2 separate regions of the Homo sapiens genome follow, and region 2 is linked to region 1. Evidence: promoter capture Hi-C in human tissues and cell types (Jung and others, 2019). All regions are on one chromosome and are shown on one strand. Each heading gives the region's core, a stretch centred on a gene start or on the middle of the fragment in contact. The rest is flanking DNA. Distances are from core to core; before and after follow the strand shown. Region 1 holds the start of STX6 (syntaxin 6). Region 2 has its middle 28 kb from the start of LINC01732.

The links. The method cuts DNA at HindIII sites, captures the fragments that hold promoters and counts their contacts. A contact is called where the count stands out against the background at its distance.
Region 2: a fragment that was not itself captured here is called in contact with the fragment with the promoter of STX6 in region 1 in 2 of the 25 tissues and cell types used here (H1 embryonic stem cells and neural progenitor cells).

What each region holds. Positions count from the first base shown.
Region 1 is chr1:181,021,450-181,024,149 of GRCh38, reverse strand. It overlaps STX6 (syntaxin 6), which reads left to right and starts at 1,280. Exons shown (of 8, transcript NM_005819.6): 1 at 1,280-1,511. The coding sequence starts at 1,477. RefSeq lists silencers at 999-1,098, 1,219-1,348 and an enhancer at 757-1,540. The HindIII fragment of the contact is 9,160 bases long and covers 1-2,700 here.
Region 2 is chr1:181,145,415-181,148,114 of GRCh38, reverse strand. No RefSeq gene overlaps it. Among named protein-coding and RNA genes, the nearest start is that of LINC01732, 28 kb to the left of the region's middle. The HindIII fragment of the contact is 3,293 bases long and covers 1-2,700 here.

The sequences.
Region 1 (2,700 bases), core at 31-2,530:
ATATCTAGCATATGAGTTGGTTAATGGTTCTGGGCAAAATGTTTTCTCGAATAGCTCTTGAACCACAGTGAGAGGAAGTTGTCATACCTGGCCCCTTCTTTATTCCTCGAAGGTGTGCTCTCCTGGGAAGCACCATATGCTGTATGAAAAATTACTTTACATGGTTATTTGCAGAATGTACAGCAACAGAAAGTACACCCCATCTGGTGGAAAGTGCACAGAATCTGCAGTTCTGCCCTGTCCAGGCTGTGTGACTACAGGAAGTCTTCAAGCCTCTCTGAACTTATTTTCTTATCTACAAAATGAGAAAAATGGATGGTGTGGTGGCTCACGCCCATAATCCCACCACTTTGGGAGGCAGAGGCAGGAGGATCATGTGAGCTCAGGTGTTCAAGGCCAGCCTAGGAAATATACTGAGAGCCCCATCTCTATAAAAAATTTAAAAATTAGCCGGGCGTGGTGGCGCTCACCTGTAGTCCCAGCTACTCGGGAGGCTGAGGCCGGAGGATCGCTTGAGCCCAGGAGGTCAAGGGTGCAGTGAGCTGTGATTGTGCCACTACACTCCAGCCAGGGTGACAGAGAGAGACCCTGCCCCCCAAAAAGGGGGAGGGGGGAATAATACTTTCCCCCAAAGGATACTGAGATGATGCATACACAACCTTTAGCACACTGTCCAACACAAAGCAAGACCTACTTAAAGGATCTGTGTAACATTATAATCAGATACTATGCTTCATTTTAAGTCGAGGACCAGATAGATTTATAAATTACATACTGTCAAAATTAAGTATTAAAAGTAGAGGAAAGGTAAGAGGATTTTGCAAATCAGGTACAACTACAGCTTATCCTGAAAAGCCGACTGCCTAGTTCTGAGGGAACAAGCCACTCCTCACCCTCAAGCTTGAGGAGAGGGCTGTAGAAGCCCGCCCACCTCCACCGCCCCGAGGGCTCCGCCTCCAGGGCCGAGGGACGCAGGCGTAAGCCCCGCCCACTGGGGGGGGGGGGAGAGAGAGAGAGAGAGAGAGAGAGAGAGAGAGAGAGAGAGGAGAGAGAGGAGAGAGAGGAGAGAGAGGAGAGAGAGGAGAGAGAGGAGAGAGAGGAGAGAGAGAGAGAGAGAGAGATATATGCCCTGGTCACGTGAGCGGGGTGCGGAAGTCGTGTTTCAGGCGGCGTTCGTGATTGGCCGCGGCCGAGGGTCCCGGGGGTGGGGTCAGGCCCTCCGACGCTTCGGGAGGAGCCGGGACTGGAGGCTGCCGAGGGGGCCGGCGCCCGAGTCCGGGATTCGGCCAGTGGTGCTGAGCGAGTGCTGGACCAGCGGCCGTCCTGTGCACCTGGCCTGTGCGCGTGCCCGCTGCTCGGCTTCACCCAGACTAAGGCGCGGGCAGCTGCGGGAACAGGCGGGGTGGGCGGAGGGAGACCGGGAGGCACGGGCGCCCTGTGCGCGGAGGAGGTGAAGGCGGCCGGGGCCGGGACGCCATGTCCATGGAGGACCCCTTCTTTGTGGTGAAAGGGTGAGTGTCGGCCGAGCGCTCCACCGGAGGAAGAGGTGGCGGTGCTGCCTGCCCGCACCTCCTAGGTCTTCTCGCAGTGGGGGGAGGGGAGGCAAGTTGGAGCTGGGGAGGGGGAACAGTGGAGACGGCTTAGTCTTGAGGGCCATGACCAAGCGTCAAGAGACGTTCCCTCCATCCCTACCTGGACCGTGAAGCCACTGTCCCCAGCCAAGCCCCTGGTGGTGGGGGGCCCTTTTTGGCCTGTGTGCTGCGGTACAATTTATTTGGGGGCCGAGGGGCTCAGCAGCTCTGCAGGTGGGGAAGGAGACACGCGGGTCCTGGCGCACACTGGCCGTCTAGTCGAGCATGGGATCTTGCTTCGAAGGAGCGAAAACAGCATCTGGGCAGGAAAAGGGAAATGGCCCTCCTGAGCTTTGTAGTTCGCGTTGACGGGGGTGAGCTCCATTGTCCATTGAGTTTGGAGCGCTTGTCCGCAGACTGGCGAGACCACAACAAGCCCAGAGGCGTCTGAGCACGTTTGCTGGGAGGGAGGCGGGGGCGGGGGCCGTTCTGGGAGGCTGGGGAGCAGGGCACCGGAAGACAATTCAATGGGGGAGTTTTTACTGAGTAATGTGAGGAGAGGAAAGCAGTCGTTCATACTCAGTGATGATTTGGAAGGAAAACAAAATGAAACAAGCCAAACCAAACTTTCCTCAGCTTTCTATTAGCAACCGGAATTTTCTCACAGTGCTAAAGGAAATGAGTGTTGCTTGTTAACTCCTTGATTTCATCCAGGTTGTTTGACAGGTTTCTCCTATTTCTTCTGCCTTTCAGAATAGAAAGGACTGCCTTCTGTTCCCTTACAAGCTATCCTAGCTCATCTTTGATTGCTCGATTGTTTCTTTGGAGATAGAGTCTTCAACTGCACTTTGTAATATCCACTTCGTAGCCATTAAACACATGCAAGAAGATCAATTCTGATGTAACTTTTAGTTTCTTATTAGAAACTTGTCAGTTTTCTGTTTTAAATGTCAAACATGAAAAATCTGAAAACTGCAAAGTTCCCAGGTCAGTACTGATCACCACAGAATGTCCCTTGCTTTTTACTAGTTGCTGCTAGCTTCCTATTTCTGTAGTGGTGCAAGCTGGCCGTTGTATAGTCAAGTGTTGTAGAAAATTTAAATGGTATTTTAGGTGAAATACTTTATCG
Region 2 (2,700 bases), core at 33-2,532, 120 kb before region 1:
ATGATCATATCACACGTCTACGGATCACACTTGAGGGATGTCTCGCTCTCCCTAGGACGAAGTCCAAATGCCTAAATACGGCTTCCAAGACCTCTGATGATCCAGGCCTGCTTAGCTCTCCATCTCACCCCCACCCCATTCCCCCTCAAACTTGACATTCCCACTTGCCACTGGCCAGGCGCTCCGTGCTCTCTCACTTTTCCAGACCTTGGGACATGTGGCCACTCATCCCGTAACATTCCCTCCACTCCCTTCTCTTGGCTGATTCCCATGAGTCCTTCAGGTGTCCACTTAGCGGTCACCTCCCTGGCACACCTTTCCACATACCTCCACCCAGTCAGAGCTAGATGCTCACGCCTCTCAATGCACATAGCTCACATGCTGAAGTGCCCTGGTCACTGTCTCCCACTCCAGACCATGAACTTTCTGACTATGAGGAATGTGTTTTCTTCCCTGTTATATCCTCCAGTGCTCAGCCAACTGACATACAATTCCAAAGAGATAAATAGCATTGTTACAAGGGAAAACACGGCAGACATCAAGGTGAATAGTGTTGAATGAATGAACTACTGCAGAGGAAGATTTTGGAAGGCTCTTCATTCTCCTTCATGGAGATGTGAAAGATGCCTGGAGTCAATTATAAGTCATCTTCCAAGACAGTTCCACCCACAGGTAGTTAATCTCATTTATTTGGGGCTGCTTTTTGTTGGCTTCAACCTCAGAGGATAAACAAGTTTGTTTTTGTTTTTGTTGCTGTTGTTGTTTTTGAGAAAGGGTCTCACTTTCTTGCCCAGGCTGGAGTGCAGTAGTGCAATCTCGGCTCACTGCAACCTCTGCTTCCTGAGCTCAAGAGGTTCTCCAGTCTTAGCCTCCTGAGTATCTGGGACTACAGGCATGAACCACTAATGCCCGGCTAATTTTTTTGTATTTTTGTAGAGATGGGGTTTTGCCGTGTTGGCCAGGCTGGTCTTGAACTCCTGAGCTCTAAGTGATCTGCCCACCTCAGCTTCCCAAAGTGCTGGGATTACAGGCATGAGCCACCGTGCCCACCAGGATAAGCTATTTTTAACTTTGTCTCCCAAATTTTGAGAAGTGTCCTGTTCTGAGGCCTGAATGCAACTCTGAATTGCCCTTTGGGCATTTCTTTGACTCCTGATCACATTTCTGATAATTTATATTTCCCACTCCACCCCATCTACAAGGTTTTAGGGTATTTGTGAAGAAAGGAGTATCAACAATGTACTACTTTTAAACATAAATAACTAGATTATGTATTAAAGTCATATTCATCACTGATTCGTACATGCATGAGTATATACTTTCTTATTGATATCTGTACTTTCTTATTGATCAATACTTGACAAAGCACTTGCTGGCATAGGCAAAATGGCATCTCCTTCTTCCTTTTGGCATTCAGTTAAAACAATCCACACAGGCTTCATCTTCCTTTCTTCTCTTTTTCCTTCCCCTCCCTTCCTGGCCTGGAAGAGTCACATAGGGCCCCTATGGGGTACTGACAGAGAGGGGGCTGCTGTGTGGAGTTCACTGATGATATGCCTGCTGGCACCTAAGGATACAGGGCACTAGAGGTGGGGACAGGGAGTAGAGGTGAAAGACACAGCTGCTGTCATTGGGAGATTGATTACGTTACAAAAATAAGTAAACTTATTGAGCAAATAAGTACATATCTTGAGGATAATGACAGTCCGGTTTCTTACTGTTGGAGAAGAGAATTACAAATATAGAAAAGAAGGAAACTATAAAGAACACTGAGGTGGATTGGAACTGGAGGTGTGAGTATCATCGACTTACTGTTTTCTGATATATAAACACAGGTAGATATGGAAATAGTTGTAGATGTGTGTATACACCTGTGAGTGTACATATGCACACATATATTTCCTAGATCTGTCCACTCAACAGGCCTAGAAGCAATGACACCTCAGTAACAAGAAGCACACTAAGGGCTCAGATTTTGGTTCCTAAACACCATCCTCCACTACAAGAAGGCAGGGCTCCTTGGAGAAAGAGCTAATTCCAGGCTGGAGAAGGAAAAGTACCATGATGAGCCTTGGTCATTTTGTAGTGCCAGAAAGTAAGACAGTGCTGAGAATGGTGGAGATGTGTCAGAAGGAGGCAGGAGCCAAGCTGAAGGGACTCCACTGGCCATATCTGGAGCAATGTGAACATCAAAATAAACAAGGACGGCAATGGAATACAATCCATTGAATAAAACAAGATTCCCTACTGAAATAAATATGCAAACGAACATAGAAAATGGGAAAGCTTTGTATTACAGTAGCCCACCAACTAATAAAATGAAAAGGAATGATGGAAATAGAAAACCATAATTTGGAAACTGTCATAGTTGTGGTTGATTCTGGCAGGAGACATCAATGGAGGCTAAGATTGGGAGATGCAAGTTTGATAAAGAACAGGATTACCTCCCCACAAAATGCCATCAATTTAAAGGGGGTAAATGGGGTCTTTATAGGAGAGAAACCTGGCAGACAAACGTTGGTACGTGACTGGTGATCAAAATAAACAGTTCCAGTTGTGGAATGGATTGACATCCTATGTCTCCTCCTTCCACCCCATGCAATTTGCTGAAATGAGAATAGCATCATTTCTGTGGTGTTCTTATCAAGGGAGCATGACCCAAGTCTGGACACCAGGACATTAGACAGACCCAGGGACGTC